Regions from separate parts of the Homo sapiens genome. Here all the other regions are linked to region 3. The links are contacts of gene promoters, found by promoter capture Hi-C in blood cells and fetal thymus (Javierre and others, 2016). All regions are on one chromosome and are shown on one strand. The core of a region is centred on a gene start or on the middle of the fragment in contact, and the rest is flanking DNA. Distances in the headings are between cores, read along the strand shown. Region 1 holds the start of DBN1 (drebrin 1). Region 2 holds the start of SLC34A1 (solute carrier family 34 member 1). Region 3 has its middle 45 kb from the start of N4BP3.

Region 1 (3,382 bases), core at 710-3,209, 600 kb before region 3:
ATGTGTGCATGTGCGAGGGTACATGTGTGCATCTGTGTGTGTCCCACACACAACCCAGATGGGGGCTGACGCACACCAGTGATGAATAACTCGCTTTGGCCACACGGATGCTGCTGGGGTGGGTGGGGGCAGGCCTGTGTTGAGCAGGATGTGGGGCAACAGGGGTTGTGTGGCCTTGGCAATAGGCCACCAGAGCTCTGCTTTTAGGAGAAAATGGGGTGTTGGTAGACAACACCCCTCCAGGCTGGAGGGCAAAGGAGGTGTTCTGGGGTGAGCTGTGCTTCTCCCCAGGCGGGGCCTTATCCCAAAGCCAGCTCCTTCACCAGGCCAAGCCGGCCACTTGCCCAGAGCTCCTCCCATGATCTCAGCCCCCCTGGGGCAGGGCTGGGACAATGGGTGGGCCGCCTGCCTGCTGAGCCTGTGCCGGCCTCTCCTGTGACTGACCTGCAGGACACGAGAGCTTGTCTCTCGCGTCCATCCCTCCAGGCCTGGCTGCTGGCCAGTGCTGCAGTACCATGCCATGGATGCCCAGCCATCTCATCCTCTCCTCCAGAAGCCCCCAGGTCAGAGTCCCCACCTGGCTGCCCTCCCAGTGTGCGGGTGAGGCCAGCCCAAGCGGGGTCCCTCAGACCTGCCCTCCTCTTTGCCTCAGTTTCCTCAAGAAGAACCTGTTCCCATCTGCCAGCAGGGAGAGGAGGCCTAGGAACCAGATGGGCACCTTCCCTAGAAGAAGAGTATTACGGGGGGGTTAAAGGATTCCAGGATGGGGCTGTGAGGAACCCCTCGGTTTCCTTTTTCCACCACCCTGGGCCGCCAGCCCCAGAGCAGGTGGTCCATCCCCTCCCCCAGCTCAGCGGGAGACAACAGCTGGGGGGCGGGGTGAGGGGCGGCCCAGCTCCTCCCCCATCAGGGACCGAGTGCCCCTTGCTGGGGGCCGGTGGATCTGTTCACCCCTTCAGCCGTCTTTGGGGGCTCCCTCCACACTTGTTCTCCAGAGGGCTTCCTCCCAGGGATCTCAGCTGGCCCCTTAGGCAGCTCGGTGCCCCCCAGCCCAGCTGCCTAGTCCCCGCAGTCCCCTTCAGGTAGGGGAGGAGAGCTCACCCCTGCCTCCTCCGCGACCCGCGGCGGTAAGGGAGTCACTTCGCGGTCGCCATGTGGCAGCAAACATCCTTCCACCTCACTCCAGCCCAGGTTTCGGGGGGAGGGCGGCCCACTCCGAGAGGCCCCCCGGTGGGCGGGGCGCCCGGCCCCCAGCCCGCTCCGCTCCTCCCCCGCCCTCGCTTTCCTTTGTGCTGTGGCCGGGCCGGGCTGAGCCGGGCAGGCTGCGCTGGCTCCGCTAGCTCGGTCCCCGCCCCGTCCCCGCCCGGACCTCGCCCGCTCGAAGGTGGCGAAGGTGCCCTTGGCCGCCCCGTGCACACCTGTCCCCCGGGCCCGGGGGGTAGGGTGGGGGATGGGCTCCCGCAGGGCCACGCGGCCCCGGGCCCCACATCGGGACCCCGCGCCTCCGGGCCGCGTCCGGCCGCCGCTCCCACCGCGCGCCTTGGGCCGCCTCCGGGCGCTCGGGGCCCGGCAGTGCCCCGCCTGGCCCGCCGGCCCCTCCCCCGGCGCGCACAAAGGCAGCCCCTCCCGGCCCTCCCGGCCCGCTGCACCATTTCGGGGTCCCCCTCCCTTCCCGGCGGCGGGGCGGCGGGGCGGGAGAGAAACAAAGGCGCGGCGGCGGCGCGGGGACAAAGGGGCCGGGGGCGGGGGCGGGGGGCTCACCAGTCGGCCGCGCTCTCCTCTCGGATCACCTCCTCGTAAGCCGCCAGCAGCTCCAGGCGGTGGCCGCTGAAGCTGACGCCGGCCATGCTTCGGGCCGGACCGGGCCGAACGGACAGACGCGCGGACGGACGGGCGGACGGAGGAGGAGGGAGGGAAAGAGGGAGTCGCCGCCGCCGCCTCGGAGCCTCTGCAGCGTCGCGAGCCGAGCGAGCCAGCGGCCGGGGGAGGGGAGCCGGCCGGCGGGGGGCGGGGGGCGCTGGCTCCGCCCGGCTCGCTCCCTCCGCTCGCTCGGTCCTAGCGCCGCCCCGGCCCGGCCCAGGGGGAGGCCCGCCCCCCCTTCCCGGCCTGCCCCGGGCGCCCCTCACCCACCGCCCCTGCGCGCCGCTCCAGGGCCAGCCCCACCCACGTCCCGAACCCTCACCTGCCCCGTCCGTAACCTCGGCGCTAGCCCTCCTTCCAGCCCCGAACCCAGTCCCGTCCCCACCTCCCCCCGCCCACCCCCCGTCCCAATCCGGTTCCGCCCCACCCATTGCTTCATTGATCTCCATTCCTGGTGCGTCCCACCTCATGTTAAACCCATTTTCATCCCAACCCAGCTCACACAACACCCCACCCCTGGCCCGTCTCCTTTCCCTGAGAGGTCCTTGCCTAGTCTATCCCATCATATCCACTGTCATCTGCATCCCACCCTCAAATCCACCCCAGTTGCTTTCCCATCCCAGCTTCAGCCCCATGCTTAGCACGTGTCCCCCCCAACATGTGTCACGGCACATCTTCAGTCCAACCCATCCCAGTCTCATCCTGATCCCAGTTCCCAATTCCCAACCACAGCCCCCCATCTCGGCTCCATGACCACTTATTCCAGGCCATTCTCAGCCCCTACCCAGCTCATTATCCCTCCATTCCAGGCCTCTCCTCCCCTCCACGCCTGTGCCCTCTCAGATGGGGCCAGCTAGGAGATCCTTTGCATTCTCTCTCAAGCCTCACGCCTCCCAGAGGAGTCCCAAGTAGAGTTCCGGAAGCAGCATCTAACCCCAGACTCCCACGGCAGGGCTCCTCCAAGGACGCTCAGGGCCAGCCTCTTGGCACCTTTATCTCCTAAAGCTCTAAGCACAGAACGGGAGGGGGCCTCAGAAAAGTACCCCCTGCAAGGGAGTGGACACCATGCCAGGGCCTTCCAGAACTCCGTTCCTTGCTAGGTTGGGACCCTGAAACCGTCCACAGCGCTTAGAAGCCTTTTCCACCACTACAAAGCCTCCAACCTCGACCTCCCTGAGCAAACTTCACCTGGTCCCAACCGCACCGCGGAGGAGGAGGTGGTTCTAGCCAGGCCTCCGAGTTCTGCGTTGGGTAATTGGCTATGCCAAGAGAAGGAGAGCAGGGCTGCCTATGTGGCAGTGTTCCTGGCGCTTTGGAGTTGGGAGAACCCTCTTAAAACTCAAAATACTCACAGGCCCCTGCCTTGGGAAGTCAGTGCCCACTATGTCTAGGGACCACAGGCCATGGCAATTTCTCCATGGCCACCACTAGAGTGAGGCACCCAGGCAGGGACACAGCCAGGCCCTGTGCCCTAGACCAACTGGCCAGTAGGTGTGGTTGGCCTGCCATGGGGATCCCTAAG
Region 2 (3,739 bases), core at 385-2,884, 680 kb before region 3:
TGAGCAGACGGAGCTTGGCACCTTCCCTCCAAAACAGCTCCTCCTGCTGGGTTCCTTTCTCAACGCGAGACACCCCCAACCAGGCAGGCTCTCAGCCCAGAAAAGGTCTGGGGAGGCCATGGCCAGAGCCCAGGTGCACAGACAAGGTGGGACTCACCACCCAGGGGGACACACAGACTCTGTCACTGGCCAGGGAGGAGGCAGGCAGTAGGCAGGGAGGTGCTGAAATGGCAGAGAGGCTGGCAAGAGATACGTTGGTGCTGGAATGGAGCTGCCTTCTCTGCTGCTTGTATGAGTCCCAACAGCAGCTCTGGTCAGATCCAGCATTTTCTCACTTTCACTAGGGCTGTAGCCCCAAAATAAATCTTTAGAAGTGGTGGCTGTGTAAATCAGCAGCATTTTGGAATTATATCTCTTGATGGATTTGATCGATAGCTAACTGCCTCCCCCACTAAACCCAGAGCTCCGTGACAGCAGGGAAGGCAAACTTCAAAAATATCAAAAAGCACAACCTTATTAAAAAGGAGAAACACCCCCAGTTCACCAGGAGCACCTTGGATTCAGCTGCTCCTGCCAAGGGTCTGAACTGCACGGGGGAATGGAGAGAAACAGGTCACGTGGGCCGGGGTCTCTGGGCCCGCTGTGGGGGTGTCAGTTTGCTCATAGGTGGAGACACTCGATGTGACATTAACAGCACCTTCAAGCCCAAGGACCCAGAGATTCTGACACAAGAACTGAGAACTGATTGCATTTCCGTGACTCAGCGACACCCTCCTACCTGGGCATGAACCCAGCCCTAGCCAAAGATCCAGAGACCCGACTCCCATCTATTTCCTTTTCCTCTCTCCCTCCCCGTCACCAATTCTACTGGTCAGATGTCCCTGGGATGCACCTGTCCTCCCCAGCCCCTCCGTTCCCATCGGAGTTCAGGCCTCATCATCTCCTGCCTGGACCATTAGCCTCTTAACTGGCCCCTCCGCTTCCAGGCTCCCTTCCATATATCCGGGTTCCACCCCGGGGGCCATTCTAAAAGGCAGATCAGGCCCATCCCAGTCTGGCCAGCGGCTCCACATTCACTCAGACTCACATCCTGGACCCATGGTCGGGCATTAGAGACCTGCCACGATTCAACATTCCACGGCCTTTCCAGCTTAGGTCCTCATCTCACACTCCCTCTCCTCTGAGCTCCCCCTGGGAGACTTACAGACACCCCGACGCTTGGCAAGGCCATAGGATGTTTTTGTTTGGTTTGGTTTGGTTTTTCTGAGACAGTCTCACTCTGTCACCCAGGCTGGAGTGCAGTGGCACGATCTTGGCTCACTGCAACCTCCGAAGGCCATAGGATGTTTGGGTCATTCCCTGGGGAGTCCTGTCAGGCCAGGAACGAGGGGACCCTGGGAACAAGGTGCTGAGTGGCATCAGGGTCTCTGCCTGCAGGCGGGGGATGTGTCTGGGTCGTGGTTGATGGGAAGAACCTGACCATAGATTCCCCATGCAGAGCTGACGATTAGCAATTAACTGGGAGGAATCTCAGGGGTGAGGTTAATTGGGGGACAGAGGGAGGGCAGCTAGGGTTCCAGGGACTTTGCCCTTGACCCAAGAGTATAAAGAGGAGGGTCTCAGTTCTCCTCAGGGTCCTGGAGGCTTCATTGAGCTGCTGAGCAGAAGCTGAAACACAGAATTCTAAGGTGAGCCCAGGACCCTCACATCCCAACCCCACCCCCAGCTCTGAGTAGGAAACAGCCCAGCACCCCAGCCCCTTCATCTGTGTCCTATCTGCGCCCACCCCCACCGCGCCCCATATAACATGTCAGTCCAGCCAATCGCGGTGGCTCCCACCTGTAATCCCAGCACTTTGGGAAGCCGAGTGGGCGGATCACCTGAGGTCGAGTTTGCACTAAAAATACAAAAAATTAGCCAGGTGTGGTGGCAGGCACCTGTAATCCCAGCTACTTGGGAGGCTGAGGCAGGAGAATCGCTTGAACCCACGAGGCAGAGGTTGCAGTGAGCCAAGATTGTGCCACTGCACTCCAGCCTGGGCGGTAAGAGTGAAACTCCATCTCAAAAAAAAAAAAAAAAAGGACTCCTGCTCCTTCAGGACTTGAATTCAACTCTTCACACCCCTACAACAGCCAAGGACGCTGGGACAATGCGGGGAGTGCTGAGGCAGATCAGGGCACTCCACCCCAATAGCCAAGACTCCTGGGGCAGTGCGGGGACAAGGGGGGGCTGAGGCAAGCCTGTCAGTGTTTGTTCATTGCCCCTTGAGGGGGTGGATGGGGAAAGGAATTCATTGTGAGGGGAACCCAGGAACTCGGGATCCGGCCCAGGGGATCTCCGTGTGTGCCCAGCTGACCCCATGAGAAGGCAGGTGTCTGCAGCTCCTCCTTGCTCTCCAGGTGGGCAAAACTGAAGCCCGGCCCAGCCCCAGCCCACACCTGCAGCCACTGCCAACACCACGTATTCCCTGGCCCCCTCCAGCCCCAAACAGGCTGGGCGTCCTCAGTTCTCAGTGTCTTTTATCAATGCTATATCCAAGCCTCTGGTTCGGAGCCTGGGCTAGAGCTCAATAATACTCATTGAATGAGTGAATGGTGAATGAATGATCACCTCACCACCACCACACACACCCCTCCGAGACTCACATGCAGGTGCCCAGCACAGATGTGCACATGTGAGTCTGCATGTGAGTCTCGGAGGGCTGTGGTGGTGATGATGGAGGGTGTGGTTTGCTGGGTGTGTGTTTGTGCGTGTGAGTCTCGGAGGGGTGTGTGTGTGTGGTGAGGATGGAGGGTGTGCTTTGCTAGGTGTGTATTTGGAATCATGCGCCATGGGGGTTTGTGCAGGTGAGGGTGTGTGGGCATGAGTGTCCCGGACACAGCTATTGTCATTCAGCGTTGCTGAGACCCACTGACCTGCAGACCTCATAGTGGGTGCCCAGGATGTTGTCCTACGGAGAGAGGCTGGGGTCCCCTGCTGTCTCCCCACTCCCAGTCCGTGGGGGGCATGTGATGCGAGGGACGGCCTTTGCCTACGTGCCCAGCCCTCAGGGTAAGTGCTGCTCCCACACCCTGGACCCTGGTTGCCCACGGTTGCCCACATCCCGGATGAGGCCACTTCCCCCGCCTGTTCCTCCCCGCCTCCCCACTTTGGGGCCCTGGGGCTCCTGACCAGGCTCCCTCCCTAGTCCTACACAGGATCCCGGGGACCTCTGCCTATGCCTTCCCCAGCCTGGGCCCTGTGGCCCTTGCTGAGCACACCTGCCCCTGTGGGGAGGTCCTGGAGCGCCATGAACCACTGCCTGCCAAGCTGGCCCTGGAGGAGGAGCAGAAGCCAGGTGGGCCTGGGCTGGGGGTGGCAGAGGCGGCAGCAGTCCCTGCCCTGGCCTCTGCCCACTATGCTCATGGCTTCCCCCATCCAGAGTCCAGGCTGGTCCCCAAGCTGCGCCAGGCTGGCGCCATGCTGCTCAAGGTGCCACTGATGCTCACCTTCCTCTACCTCTTCGTCTGCTCCCTGGACATGCTCAGCTCGGCCTTCCAGCTGGCTGGAGGTAGGGCCCGGGTGGAGGAGACCTGGGAGGGGTTCCTGAAGGGCCTTGGACAACGCTGGCTCATGCTCCCCAGGGAAGGTGGCTGGTGACATCTTCAAGGATAACGCCATCCTGTCCAACCCGGTGGCCGGGCTGGTGGTGGGGATCCTGGTGACCGTGCTGGTGCAGAGCTCCAGCACCTCCACATCC
Region 3 (3,744 bases), core at 1,130-3,629:
CACTCCAGCCTGGGTGACAGAGTGAGACTCCATCTCAAAAAAAAAAAAAAAAAAAGGTGAAACAAGTGGTCCTGAGATGCTCACTGTAGGTAACTGATAGCTGCCTGATAGGTACAAGAGAGTTTATTGCTCTCTTCGTTCTTCTTTGATGTATGTGTGAAATGCTTTGTGGAAGGAGGGAAGGAGGATGGGAGAGAAGCAGGGAGGAAGGAAAGCACTCTGAACATTTCCTGTTGTGTAGGTAAGAACTCCAGCGCATCTCAGACCACCAGAGCTCGGGCCACCAAGCTCTGCTACTAAGGGCTGCCCTCCTGCTTGCAGTGACACCACTAGCAGCGTAAGCTTCCAGAAGAGGATGGTTCCACACACAGTGCCAGCTTCACCAGTCCTTCTGGGCACAAACACACCCAAGGGATTCCTGCTTCGAGAATGCAGGGTCTGAGTGGGCTCCAGCATCTCTCCCTGTAGATTCCATGGCCCTTGTCCTCTCCAGGCCCAGGAAATCCAGCACAAGACGTACAGCCACCTTCCTTTTTCAACCTCCTGAAATACCAGAGCAGCTCCCCTTCAAATCATCCCACCCCTTCAGAAGGGGCTCAGATCTGGGAGGAAAAGGGCTCCCAGTGTGGGGCACTGTCACCCTCCACAGGCCACAGAGGACCCTCCTGGGATGGGGAAAGAGATGGGTGGGCTGGGTGGGGAGACTGTTTTCTGGTCACACCTGTTGCTCCCCATTCTACCTCCCCCCACTTGAATACAGACAAGGAGACCTCTTGCTAGAAAAGTGACATCATGGCAGGGCATGGTGGGTCACACCTGTAATCCCAGCACTTTGGGAGGCCAAGGCGGGCAGATCACTTGAGGTCAGGAGTTCAAGACCAGCCTAGCCAACATGGCGAAACCCCATCTCCACTAAAAATACAAAAATTAGACTGGCGTGGTGGCGTGCACCTGTAATCCCAGCTAGTCAGGAGGCTGAGGCACAAGAATCGCTTGAACCCGGGAGGCGGAGGTTGCAGTGAGCTGAGATTGTGCCACTGCACTCCAGCTTGGCTGACAGAGCGAGACTCTGTTTCAAAAAAAAAAAAAAGTGACTGTAAAAGTTACATGCCCATAAATCTCCATGCTACAAGCCAGGGAAACAGCAAGAGGCCATGTGCAGATGGGAGTGGCCCCTTCCCACTCCCAAGATCAAGAGCTCCTTATGCATCCACCAGCTTGTAATCACTTGCTTCTTCTCACAGACGTTCCTGAGAGGAGACTTCCCACCAGCCTGACATATTGTCGGGGAGAAAGTCACTTCCCAACCTTGCTTTAGGCCAGTGTTTACTGAGAGACAGGCATGTGCCTCAGAAGGGAGAAAACTTCCTCCCAAAACATGTTAGTATATAAGTATCTTCCAGCCAATTTCTTTCCTTTGAAAAAACCTTACTGGCCAAAATTTTTCAAAATAAAAAAATTGGGGAGAGGAAGATTCTAAGACAGTGGAGTAGCAAGTTCCAGAAATCTGTCTCTTCACCTAGACAACAATTGCGCCGGCAGAATCTGTCTGATGTGACTATTTTGGCACTCTGGAGTCTATTGACGGCTTCCAACTGTGGCTAATTTGGGTCAATTTCAGCTCTCAGCAGGCAGCAGCCACCCATCTCCCATCCCATGCCCCTGGCAGGCAGCTGTGCACATGTTCCTGGAGCAGCTTGCAGACAGCTGGTGGGTGGGAGCCGGGTGAACAAAAAGGACCCTGTCCTCCAAATACGGGAGGTCTGTGCTCTGCTCACTGATTGCTGCTTCTGATCACTGAGGTGCAAAGAGGTGGTGGTTATTGTGGTTGCACCTGCCCCCAATGTTACAAGCCCTTCCCCCTCTGACTGAAGTGACTTCCAGAGGATTTAAGGACTGTGGGCCTGCCCCCACCTGGTTCACATTTCTCTTTCTCCCCTCTTGGGAGGCAGACATTGAAGACCAGAACATTCTAAAGCAACTGCATATATTGGGGAAATTAGAGAGTCACCATGTGTGCCCCAGGGAAGACGCACGTTCAGAGAAGACTTGAGAAAACCTTAAGTTTATAGCTCTGGCTGATCATTGGCACAGAGACAGACTACAAAGATTAATTTAAAAAAAAAAAAAGTCTGGCCGGGTGTGGTGGCTCACACCCATAATCCCAGCACTTTAGGAGGCCAAGATGGGTCGATCACCTGAGATCAGGAGTTTGAGACCAGCCTAGCCAATATGGTGAAACCCTGTCTTCTACTAAAAGTACAAAACTTGGCTGTGCATGGTGGTTCACGCCTGTAATCCCAGCACTTTGGGAGGCTGAGGCTGGTGGATCGCCTGAGGCCAGGAGTTCAAGACCAGCCTGGCTAATGTGGCGAAACCCCATCTCTACTAAAATTTAAAAAATTAGCTGGGCATGGTAGCACGTGCCTGTAATCCCAGCTACTTGGGAAGCTGAGACAGGAAAATTGCTTGAACCCAGGAGGCAGAGGTTGCAGTGAGCTGAGATCATGCCACTGCACTCTAGCCTGAGCGACAGAGGAAGACTCCATCTCCAAAAAAAAAAAAAAAATTATCCAGGCATGGTGGTGAACACCTATAGTCCCAGCTACTCTGAGAGATGAGGCACAAGAATTGCTTGAACCTGGGAGGTGGAGGTTACAGTGAGCCAAGATCCAGCCACTGAACTCCAGCCTGGGTAACAGAGTGAGACTCTGTCTCCAAAAAAACAAAGAAAGAAAACAGATTGAAGAGGCCAGGCACAGTGGCTCATGCCTGTAATCCCAACACTTTGGGAGGCTGAGGCGGGTGGATCACTTGAGGTCAGGAGTTCAAGACCAGCCTGGCCAACATGGTGGAACCCAGTCTCTACTAAAAACACACAATTATCCAGGTGTGGTGGTGTGTGCCTGTAGTCCCAGTTACTCGGGAGGCTGAGGCAGGAGATGGAGGTTGCAGTGAGCTGAGATCGTGCCACTACACTCCAGCCTGTGTGACAGAGGCAGACTCCCTCTCAAAAAAAAAAAAAATTGAAGAAAACTGAACAGAGTCTATAGGATCTGCGAGACACCATCAAGCAGACCAACATACACATCGTGGGGGCCCCAGAAGTGCATACGTGTCTGTAAGTAGTGTTTTCCCAGCATGACTTGGAGGAAACCCTGCCTTTCTGGCTTAGGCTCGGCCACAGCCATCTATGTGAGACCAACCCAGAAACACTGGCGCCTTGGGGAGACAGTGAGCCTGGTGGAGGGACACTCTGGTTGGGAACTGGACAGCCCCAGTTCTGCAAATAACTGCATGTGCTTGTGAGACCGACTCACCCCACCAATCCTCTCTTCCTCATCTGTGAAAGAGGCGGAACACCAGCACCCCCCTCTGGCAGTGTGAAGGTTTCAGTAGGGGACACATCGTGGAGGATGGCTGGGATTTGCTCACACCACTGCTTAGATGAGCAGAAAAGATGTGTCCAAGTGAATCTTCTTCCCAAGGCATGGGTGCTTGTGGGGGTGGGGGGTGCCAAGACTTCAACTTAGCATCTCAGTCTCTTCTGAGTTTCTTTTAAAGTCCAACTTTGAACCTAGAGATGTGTAAACAGAATCTTGTGAAAGACGATGTCTTTCAGATGAATGTTCTATCATTTGGATGGAAATGATATTGAATCCCCCTCCTTGTGCAAATGAGCCCTGTGTATGTATGTGTATGTGTATGTGTATGTGTATGTATGTGTATGTGTATGTGTATGTG

The links. Contacts are between HindIII fragments. The CHiCAGO score rates a contact against its expected background, and 5 or more counts as called.
Region 1: the fragment with the promoter of DBN1 here is called in contact with a fragment that was not itself captured in region 3 in 1 of 17 cell types (total B cells); the score reaches 5.0 in total B cells.
Region 2: the fragment with the promoter of SLC34A1 here is called in contact with a fragment that was not itself captured in region 3 in 1 of 17 cell types (total B cells); the score reaches 6.4 in total B cells.

What each region holds. Positions count from the first base shown.
Region 1 is chr5:177,471,675-177,475,056 of GRCh38, forward strand. DBN1 (drebrin 1) reads right to left here and starts at 1,960. Exons shown (of 15, transcript NM_001363541.2): 1 at 1,762-1,960. The coding sequence starts at 1,847. RefSeq lists enhancers at 818-1,321, 1,322-1,823 and silencers at 972-1,158, 1,078-1,447, 1,478-1,677, 1,758-2,137, 2,148-2,197. The HindIII fragment of the contact is 11,570 bases long and covers 1-3,382 here.
Region 2 is chr5:177,382,800-177,386,538 of GRCh38, forward strand. It overlaps SLC34A1 (solute carrier family 34 member 1), which reads left to right and starts at 1,635. Exons shown (of 13, transcript NM_003052.5): 1 at 1,635-1,688; 2 at 2,896-3,051; 3 at 3,188-3,337; 4 at 3,422-3,550; 5 at 3,624-3,739. The coding sequence starts at 2,943. The HindIII fragment of the contact is 19,795 bases long and covers 1-3,739 here.
Region 3 is chr5:178,066,774-178,070,517 of GRCh38, forward strand. No RefSeq gene overlaps it. Among named protein-coding and RNA genes, the nearest start is that of N4BP3, 45 kb to the right of the region's middle. RefSeq lists a silencer at 1,767-1,846. The HindIII fragment of the contact is 4,078 bases long and covers 341-3,744 here.